2 separate regions of the Homo sapiens genome follow, and region 2 is linked to region 1. The links are contacts of gene promoters, found by promoter capture Hi-C in blood cells and fetal thymus (Javierre and others, 2016). All regions are on one chromosome and are shown on one strand. The core of a region is centred on a gene start or on the middle of the fragment in contact, and the rest is flanking DNA. Distances in the headings are between cores, read along the strand shown.

Evidence for each region. The method cuts DNA at HindIII sites, captures the fragments that hold promoters and counts their contacts. A CHiCAGO score of 5 or more calls a contact.
Region 2: a contact is called between a fragment that was not itself captured here and the fragment with the promoter of ACSL3-AS1 in region 1, in 1 of 17 cell types (M1 macrophages). The highest score is 5.6, in M1 macrophages.

The regions. Positions count from the first base shown.
Region 1 is chr2:222,914,095-222,920,894 of GRCh38, forward strand. ACSL3-AS1 (ACSL3 antisense RNA 1) reads right to left here and starts at 5,507. Exons shown (of 3, transcript XR_923949.3): 1 at 5,445-5,507; 2 at 5,136-5,265; 3 at 2,560-3,695. It overlaps ACSL3 (acyl-CoA synthetase long chain family member 3), which reads left to right. Exons shown (of 17, transcript NM_004457.5): 5 at 2,225-2,402; 6 at 3,952-4,061; 7 at 4,970-5,108. The HindIII fragment of the contact is 9,982 bases long and covers 1-6,800 here.
Region 2 is chr2:222,301,016-222,308,120 of GRCh38, forward strand. CCDC140 (CCDC140 long non-coding RNA) reads left to right here. Exons shown (of 2, transcript NR_161172.1): 2 at 2,731-4,202. Among named protein-coding and RNA genes, the nearest start is that of PAX3, 5.6 kb to the left of the region's middle. RefSeq lists enhancers at 5,685-6,220, 6,221-6,755. The HindIII fragment of the contact is 2,592 bases long and covers 3,464-6,055 here.

The DNA.
Region 1 (6,800 bases), core at 4,257-6,756:
AAGACAGGAATGTGTGTAATTTTGAAATATTTCTAAATAGTGAAAGTAAAACAAGTCCTAGTGCTTAAAGAGGTTTTCAGTAGGAGACAAGATTACCACCTGTAAGTAGAGAGAAGGAAGGGTGGAAGGTGTGTGTGTACGTGTGTGTGTGTGTGTGTGTGTGTGTGTGTGTGTGTGTGTGTGTATTTTGAGACAGGGTCTCACTCTTGCCCAGGCTGGAGTGTAGTGGTATGATCATAGCTCTCTGCAGCCTTGAGTTCCTGGGGTCAGGTGATCCTTTTGCCTCAGCCTCCTAGGTAGCTGGGACGACAGGCATGTACTGCACGTCTGGCTAATTTTTACACTTTTTTAGACATGGGGTCTTGCTGTGTTGCCCAGGCTGGTCTCGAATTCCTGGCCTCAAATGAGTTGCCTGTCTCAGCCTTCCAAAGTGTTGAGATTACAGGCATGAGCCAGTGCACCTGCCCAGAGGAGGCTATTTGAATAGAGAGAAGGTTTCAGAGGTATTTCAGAGGGTGAGAAAACGAATAGACCAGGGATGTATGATAGGATTGCTTCAGGGTGTTGAGGTCCTAGATTTAATAAGGTTGGCTGTTCTGCAGCAGTGTTCAATGATATTGGCAAGGAATAAATAGTTTAATCTTGTCTTGGGCTAGCCATAGGGACAAAGTTAGGATTAGAAACTTTTCCAGCACAAATCAGATACAATATAGAGTGGGTAGTGTCCTCTAAATGTAATATTTATGAAAAACATAATTACTAGATGATTCAGTGGTTTAAAGAATTAAAATCATGAGATTCAGATTTCGTTTTATATTTTATTTTTTACATATGTGGAAATCTTACGCTCATTTGATTCCTTTGCCACATGGTGGCATCATTGCATGAGTTTACATATTTAGATTATATATCAAACACCTTTTCAGAACACACATAGTCTTTGAAATTTATAAATCCTGTCACTTACATATTAGAATCTGGAAGGTAGTGCATTCTTAACCTTTAGAGTGTAAAATTCTTAATAATTATAATCCAGTTCCTGCACATTTTGGCCAAGTTGTCATCTGTCTTCTAACCCTCACAGAGCTCCTTTTGAAGTCATTGGAGCTCCCTGTGCTGAGCATTTCATGGGGGTAAAGAGCAAGGTGAGAGTTTGGGACCAGTAAAGTAAATAAGTACCATCTTAAATGCAGTTGCTTTATCCATCAAAATAAAAATTTATTTCTTAAATGCGTAATTGCATGGGACACTAGATGGCAGCATTTATCCTTTTCCGTTTTTATCCAACCTCTTCTAGAAATTTCTTAAATGTTTACATTTATAAAATGAACATGGTCAGATGATTTTAAGGTGTTTGAGATGTATATTACTGACACAGCCATGTTTGGGAATTAATTACCTATATATTTTTGCAGAGAGAGGAGCTTTTTATACAGTCCGTATGTAATTAGGGATTTATGGTTTTGTCTAAGTTGAGGAAAATTTCTAAAGACAATATGTTAAAAAACTTCAAAAGGGAGTTTTTACTAATGCATATTTGGTATTACCAGCACTTACGATAAACAGATAAAATATTGAAAACCTGGCGGTGCCAGTAAGCATTTAAGGCTTGAATAGAGGGACTTTGAATAATATAACTAGTCCACCTGGTTATGTAAACAGAAACTTGTTTACTTTGCTTTTGCTTATCCAGAGTTTGGTATGGCAATTCAAGTTCAGCAATCATAAAGATTTCTGTTAGCTTGGATAGAGAAAGTTTCTGTGAATCATTTTATACCGTCTGATACTGACATTTAGGAATTCCTAAATAGAGAGAAATTAAAATTTTGGCATCTGCGGTACTTGGTACTAGGCTAAATATTAAGTTAACACCTACATCATTTAAATAGGTGAAATTTATAAGTAGATTATTAGTGTATGACCATTTGGCCAGGCAGTTGACCTTTACGAGCCTATCAAACTCTCAATATTTTTGAAAACCAAAAATAAAGCCAAAAAACCCCCCAGTTACAATATAAGATTTGAGTTGTTATAGAAGATGTCACAAAATAGCTAATTTTTAAAATAGATTTTTCACTCAAACTCAGTTTCTGGCTTTTTATTAAAAAGATAATTCTATGCAAACGTAACTTTCTGGTTCATCATAACATTTGGACGATATTCTGGTTTCTTCTGTAAATTATTATTTTGATTACATTAAAAAAATTTTTTTTTGTTTTATCAGGTTATTCTTGGACAGTATAATTGGCTTTCCTATGAAGATGTCTTTGTTCGAGCCTTTAATTTTGGAAATGGATTACAGATGTTGGGTCAGAAACCAAAGACCAACATCGCCATCTTCTGTGAGACCAGGGCCGAGTGGATGATAGCTGCACAGGCGTGTTTTATGTATAATTTTCAGCGTATGTAGACTTTCTTATCTTCTGGAAGAATGAACTTAACTGATATTTATTGAAATACTTTACTCTGAAGAGGTTAAAATTCTGATGTTAATTTTCACCCAGTGTCCAGTTAGTGGAGAACTCTGTTGTGACTTGGAATTTTTGGTTTATTTTGGAAAATAAATCAATTATATGACAAATTGTACCAATCAGTGTTGCAGTGAGGCTTGAACCTCTTCATGGGAGACTTTCAGGTCTTGAGAACTAGACCTACACTTAGGGGCCGTTGTTCCAATACCATTTCTCAGGAATCCTCTTTAGAAGTTACTGTCAATTTTGTTCTGTCACCTCTATCAGTAACAACAGTTGACCTCCGAAACACTTCCATACTGAAACCTGGTGAACTTCAAGGTGCAGGTTAAACAATAGAGTTTTCATATTGTAATTATCTGAATGGTAATTGTGGTGGCTCAGTCTGTGAGATAGTTCTGGAAGCATAAGTTCAGAGGTCTCGGTGCCAAAATGTGACAGTAATTTGTGGATGTTTAGTCTCATCCTTCAGATGAAACAGAAAATACACTTTCACCAGATTTCTTGCTGTAAATTCCTCCACCTTTTCTTTTTCTTTTTTTTGAGATGGAGTCTCACTCTGTCGCCAGGCTGGAGTGCAGTGGCACAGTCTCAGGTTACTGCAGCCTCTGCCTCCCGGGTTCAAGCAATTCTCCTGCCTTAGCCTCTCGAGTAGCTGGGACTGCAGGCGCATGCCGCCATGCCCGGCTAATTTTTTGTATTTTTAGTAGAGATGGGGTTTCACCCTGTTGGCCAGGATGGTCTTGATCTCCTGACCTTGTGATCCGCCCACCTCGGCCTCCCAGAGTGCTGGGAATATAAACGTGAGCCACCGTGCTAGGCCTCCTACACCTTTTCTTTTAAACAAACATTCCATTTTTGTTGTCACAGGTTTGGATTTACATTGTTTCTTTTGAGGAGCTTTAAAAGAATTATTTTCAAAGTCATTTTGTGTATCTTTTTTGAGTTAGGCAGAAAGTAAATAAAAATCTACACTATTCATGTTATGTAATTTCAGCATTTCAGAGAATGTTTGTCTTTAGATATTTTTGCTTGAGAATAAACGGTACTGCCACTTGTTTGTGCTCTTTTCTTGACATACACCGTAAATCTGACATTCAGTGTGTCATCCTATTTGTATATGTTCTTTTTCACATTGTAAAGCCAAGTGGCCAACAATTAAGAATTTGAAGTCTTAGAAATCAGTTATAATTCCTTCACAATGTGGTAGTCCCAGAGTAACATCTGTAAGTGAAACAAAATAAAAATTTAAATATCTTCATCTTTAAAAATTGGAAATCTTGGGGCATTTAGGGGAGGATGAGTAGGTGTAATGTTGATTAGTATGATAAGATAACTTTAAAAAACATAACACTTATAGACTGTGGATTTAACAGTTTAGGGCTCCTAATGCGTTATTATGATTCATCTCCACATTCAGAGACTTTACATTTGTAGTTAAATGTTTGAATATTTGACTGGCTGCTGCTTTTCCTTTTAGTTGTTACATTATATGCCACTCTAGGAGGTCCAGCCATTGTTCATGCATTAAATGAAACAGAGGTGACCAACATCATTACTAGTAAAGAACTCTTACAAACAAAGTTGAAGGTGAGGACTCTAGTTACTTTCTAACTGTCTGATACTTTAGAATTTTCAGTGTCATGAGCCCTATTATTGATACTTAGTTCTTTTATGACTTTTAAGTCCTTAATCTTTGTGGACTTTTATGAATATCATACTTTATTTTTTCCTTTAGAAAATAAAAAGTAGATTTTGTATATATTCATGTATAAGTAATCCAGAGTTATAAATTGTTAAGATGCCTATGTTTAAATTGAAGAAATTACGACTACTTTTTCTCTTATTGTGCTCATCTATTTTCTAGTTTACTTTTAGTAAATTTGTAATTTTGAAGGGTTATATTTTAAACTAGTAATTTTTATTTTACTTCTGAAGCATTAAGTAATTACAAGTTTTCAGAATTGTTTGGAAGTTAAAAAGGGAGACTTTTAATTATATTACAGTAAAAAGAGTTTCTTTGGTCTCTAGACAACTCCCAGAAATATCTGGGCTATTCTATATGGGGGAAGGAGGAGAAAATTCACATGTAAACTTGTTCAAAAAGAAAATTTTGAACAAGTTTGCATGTGAATTTTCTCCTCCTTCCCCCATATATTTTTATGTAGTCTCTTGAAAATATGAGGGGCTTCTGGTTTCTCTACAGTTTAGGCAACCTGTGTTTACATGCCCGTTTTATAAGGCAGTACCCTTCTTGATCAGGGTTTTACCAAAGGCCAAGGGTACACACAGTGAATCTAATGCTATAAAATAATAATTTAAATTCAGACCAATACTTAATCATCTGTAAAAAGTGATATTATGCCAGTGTACCCTTTCTTCTTTCTTTTTTGAGGCAAGAAATTACTTAATGATTCACCGAATATGGTAAACTAGTATTCTTATTCGCTAAGCTGCTTGAAAAATAATGAACGTGATGAATGTTGGTGTATTTCTAGGATATAGTTTCTTTGGTCCCACGCCTGCGGCACATCATCACTGTTGATGGAAAGCCACCGACCTGGTCCGAGTTCCCCAAGGGCATCATTGTGCATACCATGGCTGCAGTGGAGGCCCTGGGAGCCAAGGCCAGCATGGGTATGTTACACTTTTCTAATTCCTTACCTGTGCTTTCTGGTGACCACATTCTCCAGAATTATGCCAAAGTTTTGATTCTGAGGTTAGCTCAAATGACACATCAGTTTTCTAACATCAGTTAGGAAAACAGGTCCCTCTAGGTATACTTTCATCTTGTCTTTAAAGAAAGTTTTAAGGAAAAATATAAACATTAATTATTAATGTTTTAAAGGTAGTATTTATTTGAAATTTAAAATATTTTACATTCAGTTTTCATTTCTTTTTTATGGTGATAGTTTTGGGTGGTTTAAAGTTAGTTTATAAATAATGACATTTATCTTGTCCTATGTGAATTACCTGTAAGTGTTAACAGAGTGGCTAAACCTGGAGGCCTCCTTTTACTCCCTGTTCCAGTTCTTCCCTTTCCTGAGGTGAAAACCTTACCCTCCAACTAGCACACCTAGGCATGGTGACTCTACAAGTTCCTATTCTCAAAAAAGCGTCAGAAAATGTTAGCTAGTGTACTAGTGTTTAGAGATACTGCAAAAGCTGCTGGGATGCTGGGACTGCATTTCCTCTGTAGTTGGAAACCTAGTAATTAGATGTAAGCATTCACTCAACTCAAATTTTAGGCACCTGGAATTTGAGTGGTAGTGGGATATTTAGATGCAGATATATTGTGGACAGTGGTGTGTAAAAGTCTAGTACTCGAGTTATGTTTGGACTTAGAGATTTGGAAGCTAGAAGCAGTTAGGTTTTAATTATAGCTGTGGGAGTAGGGGGTGAGGTCACCAACAGGGAATGGTGGCTTCAGAGGCTACTAAGGACTAGTCAGAGAGGAAAGAAGAAAATATCTAGTAGTATGTGGTTCCTGGAAGCCAAGGGAAAGGAGATCTTGGTGAGTCATCAGCAGGATCAGGGGCTGCATGCAGAGGTCAGATGACACAAGGATTGTAATTTCCAAGAAGTGGTGGTGTTGGAGAAGGGTGCTGTGCATTGAAGGAGTGAAGGGCTGATTTGGAAGTAAAGACTTCCAAGTGTAAACATTATTTAAGAAATGTATCTTGACTGACAGGAGAGGAAGGGTATTCTATTGGGAGTACATTTAAATAATTTTTTCACACTCATTTAGAAGTTCACATGTAGAGTAGTTCTGGGAGTGGTTCAGACATATCAGCAATGCCAACCATGACCTATTTCTCTTTGTTCTTCTGCTGTGCCACCTCTATAGCTTCTCAGCTGTTGTCCTTAGGCTGGTACTCTTCTGATTTCAAATGGTTCACATCGTGTTTTAATGCAGGACTCTGAGTGTAACCAAGTTAGTCACCATTCTGAAGCAGTGAATAGTTTTTAGCAAACACCTAGATACTCTAGTCCAAAGCTACCTTTATTTCTTAGTTGAATTACTGGGATAATCTTGTCTCCCTGATACCTTTTTTCCCCTTGTAAAGTTAGTTAGCCACACAGCAGCCAAAGTGATCTTTTTTTTCACAGATAATAACATACTCCTGTTCAAAACAACATTGCTTTACATCCAGAACGTAATCCAGAGTTCTTCCCGTGGCCTTTGAGGTCCTATGTGTGGTCCCTGATAGCCACTTGACTATTGTTTCTTGCCACTCTTCCTCTTGCTCACTCTGTTCCAGCCACACTCCTTGCTGGTCTTTAGATATGCTGAGCACATTCCTACCTTTGGGTCTTTGCATTTGCTTA
Region 2 (7,105 bases), core at 3,510-6,009, 610 kb before region 1:
GTCTCCAAGCCCTCCCAGCGTCCACCCGTCTCTCTCCTGCCGGGAGTTTTCTCTCCTAAGAGCCGGCAGATGCTGGAGGGAAGCGCTTGCTGCAAGATTCCTTCTCCCGGTCCCGTAGATTGCAGAGTCCGCGGGACCGTTGAACGGAGGTACTGCCGGCTGAGCTGGGTCTTAAGTGCCCATGGGTTCATAAACTAGCTGTCACTTGCTATAAACATGTACAAATGGAGGCCACAAGGATGTGGGGGTGCTGGGGACCTAAAGCTCCGGAATCAGGAGGCGACTCATTTTCTCTCCTTTCCGGCCTCTTTCTTTTCTGCCGAGCGCTCTGAGATTCATATGTACCCAGATGATCAGCCCGGCCCTTCTCACCGGCCAGTGGCCAGAGGTCCCTGGACACCCGGAGAGGGGTGGGAGGGCACCCTTAGGCTCTGGACAGCTGGGCCACATCCAAAGACTTAATGAATCTAAATTTCTTGTGGCCTGTGTCCCCGAAGTCCGACCTGGGATGGCCAGGACAGCAAAGTTGGCTGAGGCTGCCTGGCCTAGGGCGCCCGCACGCCGCCAAACCTAACCCGGCTCAGAGCCGTGACTCCGCAGAACAGGGCGCAACAGGTCTCAGGAATGCCGGGTGATTCCAGCCACTCTTTCTCTGTCTCCGAGTCTTGGGCCTCCCCTTTATTTCTTTCTGAAGTCTCTCCGGAGCCCAAGCCACCCCACACCCAAACCCCGCAGCTGGATGGGAGTCCAGGCCACTTCCCTATCCGCAGCCGGTGGGCCAAGGAGTCCTGGTGCCAAATTTGGCCGCGGTACAGGCGCTAATTGGTAAAGGGATGACCCAGCGGTGGGGCTTGGAAGGCGAGGGCCCGCGCCCTGCATCCTTGAACCCTGGTTTGGGAGGCAGTGACTTTTACCTGGGCTAACAAATTACCCAGAAAGCATCAGTGGGACTCTCCACAACGGTGTTGTGAACGAGTGTAGGGTCCACTCACGCTCTGTGCACGTTCGAAATGAAACGGGAGCCTTGAAGACGATATTTGGATAATTTGACAAAAAAAAAAAAAAGGTGGGCGGGGGAGATAGCTTCTATTGTCCCCTCTGCGCCTCTGCCCCCAGTTTCAGAGACACTACAGGTGAAAATAACAGCGGGCTGGCTGTCCAGGCCTGAGTGGAGCGTGCCCTTGTTAGCTTGAAAGTTCTCCCTCGCAGCCCGTTTGGATGCGTGCGTCTACAGCCCAGTCGCACTTTGGTGACCGGCCTGGGCTGTGAAGCACCCTTTAGCGAACAGCCTCCGCACTTGGGGACACTGGCACAAGGGTTTCATGGCCCGTGGACTTCTCAGGGCCTCTGAGGGTTGACTTCATACTCAGCCAGACACAGGTCTTAAGAGGAAATTATGATCTATGCAAAATAATGTCCCTGACCTAGTGGGGAGCGGGGGTGGTGTCTGCCACCCAGACCTTTTTCCTCCCGTCTGAAGGGCCGAGCTCTGGCAGGCTGACACGGTCGAGCAGAGAAGTTCCTGGCCACCCGCCCGGCCCCAGGCGTGATTCTCAGGATGCAGTAAAAGTTGGGCAAACGCCGAGAAACCCTCAATCCCACAGAAAGGCTGCCGGGGGCTCACGGGGAGGACATCAAAACGCCAGGTTCGTGATCATGAGCTTCCGGTCCGGATGTGATGATACAGGATTGGTGAATGCCCGGGTTAAACCCGTGGTCCTTCGCAGCCGCTGCCTCAGTGACAGTCATTAGGCCCCCCGCAGTTATTTGTCAAAAGCATTGGCGCCGCTCTTCTCCCCATCGAAAAATCAGTCGGGATGAGTTCGGATTAAGGGACTAGATGAGGATGTGGACATCCCATTGAAACATGGTGTAGGCCAGCCGAAGTGGGTTTGCTCCTTCAGCTGGGGGAGCCCCAGGGAACGTGTGAGCGGGTTTACAATAAGGAACATATGGTTTGTGGGAAGATAGGAAGAGAGAAGGAAAATAGGAAAGGAAAAAGAAAAGAGGAAAAGAAGAGAGAGGTACTTTTTTTTTTAAAGGCAGTGAGGGAGGGAGAGAAGAATAAATCTCACAGCAGCTGGTGTCCTAGTTCATTTGGGTCTGAGAAAATTATTTTTAGGCAAACAAGGAAGACAGGATTCCGCCGCCCGATTCTCCAGGGCGGGAAGAATAGGATGTCTTGTAAAAAATAAGTAAGTCCTGTCTAATCTTCCAAAAAATGTTCTGCTCAATTAGGTAAAAGTTCATGGTGGGGTGGGGGTGATGTTTAGAAGACAGATTCTTCGGTAACTGCTCTTTGGTGTGTGTATTCGGGGTGTGTGTATTCGGGGTGTGTGTATTCGGGGTGTGTGTATGTGTGTGTGTGAAAGAATCTGGTGTGTGTGAAAGGGGTAAGGGTTGAAGGACCTTATTTAGCTGGGGGACCGTCTTGTATTGGGAGCGGGCAGCCTAGGCCTTGGAAAGACCAGAAAATCTGATCTGTGCGGAGGCAGGTGAAGGCTGTGAGTGAGGTGGGGGCGGGAACAGAGCTGGAGGAAGTGAATAAAAGAAACCTTGGGGTCCGTTGGTTTCCTTGACTCGTGGAGCAAAAAAGTAGGCGAGTGACCACTCCAGGAACTCCTGCCTCCGGGCGCCGGTACATAAAGAGCTGGGGCTGTGTGTCCTGCTCTTGGGGGAGGAGGGTACTGGGAAGGGGGAACTAACAGGTCTTTCTTTCGCTCGGATCAGGACTGGACTCCTTCTGACTCCACGCGGCCCCAGCTCCTGAACCAGCGCAGTGAGCCTCAGCCGCTTCTCAAACTGGGTCTCAGAAAATTTCTCCTCGAGATGGATTTCAGCGGCAGGAAAGAGGGGCCAGTGACGCGAGGAGCAAGAAAAGAGTAACATGGGAGATGAATGTTCAAACCCAGATCTCCTCGCTGAGCCTGGAAGCTCGCCACCGTGGGATCACGGGAACCAGAGGCAAGAGGCTGCGAATGAGTCCAACACCCGCGTTCCTCGAGTTTTAAAAGCACACCTGGGGCCAGAGACTGCACAGCCAACTAAACGGAGTAAACGCAACAGGTGGAGGAGGCAGAGTTGTCAGGGGCCAAGCCCGGCGCGATCTGGCCAGTTCTTGGGGAGCGCGGACCTGGGACTGCAGAGAGGCGTTTTGAAGAGTGCTGCGCGCACCTGCCTCTCGGAGATATCCAACTCCACCCGGGCGTCTCCTGAGAGCGCACAGTCCACAGACCCCGGGAGGGCTGCCCGCCCTAGGACACGTACTCTCCCGACCCCTCACTCTTTCAAAATTGGGGAAGAGGCGGAGGAGATGAAAAAGAAGAAAGAGAGAAAGAGAAGAAAAGAGAGAAAGAAGGAAAGAAATTTTAAAAAATAATAAAAGGAGGGAAGAATGGAGGTAAAACGCGGGGGAGAGAAGAGGGGAGAAACTCTCCTCACCACAACCAAAGCAGGAGGCCTAAGCTTCCTGAATTTCTACACATGACTTGCATTAAGTTCCTTCCTAGAACTTAAACTTTTTCATCTCCCGTCACCCAAGAAAACACCCATTTCCTCTTTTAAATAAAGTTTCTTTTTCTGGAGATGAACCTTTAAATAAGTCGTACGTTTGGGAGCGAGGGACAGGAGAATAATTTTGATCCAGAACCTTGGAGATTGGAGAAGCAGGTGGAAAAATTCTAAAAAGATGAAAACTGACCATCTCCGACACAGAAACCCATCGAAAGGGGCCACCGAGACCCGTTGATTAGCTGGAGGGAGCATGCGGCAGAAGTGCAGACCCCTCGCTAACCCGCCAACCTCCAAGAGCCCTCTTGCAGAAAGCTGCCCGGCTCCCCACGGTGGCCCTGCGCGCGCACCATCCTCGCGGTCTCGCTTCTTCGCCCCGGAAAACTCTATGAGGGGCACCCCAGCCTCAGCCGGGTTAAGACAAGTAGCCCCAAGAGGAAGGAGCCTCAGAGAGCCTTTCTTCCTGTTCTTCTTCGTCTTCTTTTTTTTCTAAACGAAATCTAATACTATCTGGCTGCAAAAATATATTATCACCGGCTCTCAGCCTAAGAGACTAACATTTGGATATGTAGGAAATGTAATCTGCATGGCTAATTGATTCTCAGCGTATCAGTTTAAAGGATAAAGATCGATATCTACATGATGGATATTGTATTAATAGGGGCATAAATAAAGGTCGAAGAGTCGTTACCAAAACCTTTGAAGCCGCTTTTCGGCTCTCGGGCCCTCCACGCGGCCAGTGGGTCTCTCCCACCTCCCCGCCCCCAGCTGCTGCTGGGCAGGGAGCATTTGCTTCCCCCTCCAACCCGGGACCAGGGTGGAGGAGTCTATGGTTAAAGCGAAAGTGTTTCACTGCGGCAACGCTGGGGAAAGGAGGTTCTTTTTTCCTGGGCTGCAGCAGGTGGACAGTAAGGCCCGAGAAAATGTAATATTTTAACAAAACGCACCACTCCCCGAAACACACGTATACGACCCACACAGGGACACAAACAACCACACATGTACACACACACACACACACACACACTCACACACACACAATCACGCAGGGCGGGGAGGGTTCTCAGCGTTCCCTGAGCGCCCTTTGGCCTTAGAGACAGGGAATAAATTCTTCTTTCCATCCCTCGGCCCCCTCCCAGAGGGCAGCGACGAAAGCCCTGGCCGAGCACAAGGATCGGTGATCTGGGCTCCTGGAGGTACCCTCTAGATGGGGTAAGGACGGGGAAGGATCAAGAGGTTCTGCGGGAAGTGTGCGGGGCTGGGGGGCGGGGGTGCCCGCCAATGTCCGCAGAAGGCAAGGAGGCCCACTCGAGGAGGGCTGGATGGAGACAGACTTGAGTCGGGCCCTGAGCCCCAGGGAGTGCGGCCCGGTAGATCTCGGGGCGAGGGGAACAGGATCGGGTACACTTGATCCGGAACAAGAACGCCTCGGCCTGGCGGTTGCCCGTTAGTCCCGGATCCCAGCGGCCGCTTCACCACTGAGCCCGAGCCGCCGAGGGAATTTTCCAAATGCAAATCAAACACCCTTGGCGCCCCGCTTCTTCATTAATTAAGAGGAACGTTTCGACAAAACCGGCGTAATCTTTATTAATTACGCAGCCCTTAGCGCGCCGTTCGCATCAATCACGCCCAAAGCGAAAGTGCAGGGGGCGCCTAATCCCTTCCCAGAGCGCGTTTGGAGAAGGAGCCGCGTGGCCGGCGTTTCCACCGTGACTTCCACCTTTCTGGGCTCGCCTGGCACTGGCTGCTCAGCCGGCGCGCAGGGAGGCCTTTCCGGAAACACCGGCTGGCTGCGCGCTAGCAGGACCGCTCTAGATCCCCTGACAGGCCGGAAAATAACCCCCACTCACTATTTGGGCACGCGCTCGTACGCAGAAACTCGCACAGGGACTCGCGTGGACACTTTATGGCCCATTTCCTCCGTCCCCTCACCCTTAGGCTCAGTGGGGACCACGCGGTTCTCAGTCCTCCTCTTCCCTAGGACCCTCTAAAAAGGAGCCTGGGGCGAAATGACAGAGGGAGGCAGAAAACCTCCTGTTGCCCCAGGACGCCCCGAAAAACTGCTCTGGGGGATGGGGCGGGGAAGACCTTAGAAGTTGTCAGGGCGACCAACTCCTCCCAGGTGACCAGGTTGCCATAGGACCAGCACACTGCTCAGGAGTGAGTTTTGGGGAGAGAGAGGGATCCTCCAGTTATTGCCATAGAGAACCAGGAAAGTTCGCAGCCTCCGGGTCGCAAGTGGGAAAGTTGACTGGAGATTGCGGTTAGAGGGGGTGGGTGCAAACTCAGGGTATTTCCGGGTAGCCCCGCAGCAGTCTTGTCCGCTGAAGGCAGGTTACCCTGGGCTTTCAAGGGAAAACGCCTTGGGGCGGGGTGTCCTGTGCGACCACCTCTCTCAGCAAAGCAGGGTTTGACCTCTTGGCCTGACCTTGCTCCCTAGTCCCACCCTATACTAGTAGGTCCTAACCTTTCTGCGCTTTGAGCCTGGACCATCGTCCCTTCAAGAGATTCTACTGGATAAAAAAAAATTATAAAAGCTGGATCAAGCTTGGCGTCGGAGGTCTGGCCCTCAGCTGGTTCCCACCCTAAAGGACTGGCCTGCCCACCCTCACGTCCTCGGGCGCCCTTGGCTCGAGGGCCTTTCGGAGCCTCCGCGGGAAGCAGAAAGTCGCACCTCACACTGAGCCTTTCCTTCGAGCGCTCTGCCGGGAGCTACTGAGCCCCAGCACGCAGCCTTGGGCACCCGGTGGCGGGCGAAGGAACCTGCCCCATTGTGCTGCTGGGCTGCACTAGCGGAGACGAGAGTGCGTGTGGGAGTGGCCCACTAGCACCACCCGCCAGGGTTTAGCAGCGCCTGGAGCACCTCCCTCTTCCCTGCTGTTTCCTTAATGCTGGAGCTGGGCACACTCCGATGTCCCGCATTCTCACATTCAATCATTCATTCTCCCTCTGAAAGTTCTCAGGCTCCTTTGCTCACGGGTCGTCTCTGGACCTGAGACACCTGCGAACCTTGCGGATCACCAGATTGTTTTATTGTTCCTCTCTTCCCCCACTGAATCGTCGGCCGGGCTAGTCTTCCAGTTTCGCCTGGAGTCGATTGCACTCTGGCGCACGTGGCCTTTCACTTACTCCACATATACTTATTGAGCTTCTACTACGTGCCATTCAGAGTGCTGGCACCACAGCAACGAAACAGACCAAAGTCTTTGCCCTGGCAGAGCTGATGGTCTAGAAAATAGCAAAAAAATAATATAGAAATGCACCCTGCCAGGAGATTGGTTGTAAGACTGAGGTTCAGCTCTGGAGAAGCTTGAAAGACCAAGGGTGGGGTAGTGAGTGGGCGGGTAAGAAAGGCTGGGGTGCAGTTGATATTTCAGCAGGAGTGGTCTGGGCAGGCTCTACGGAGCTGTAGCTCCTTGCAGAGAAGGGAGAGAAGGAAGGAGTGTTGGCTGAAGGAAAGGCAAGGAAAAAGGAAAGTGATGAAACCATGTGGTCCACAACAGTTTAGTGAATGCCTACTGTGCTGTGGCAGTCTGAGGTCCTGGAAAACTCCTGGCAGGGCCTGGGCAGCCAAATCTGCAGATATGCTTCCCTC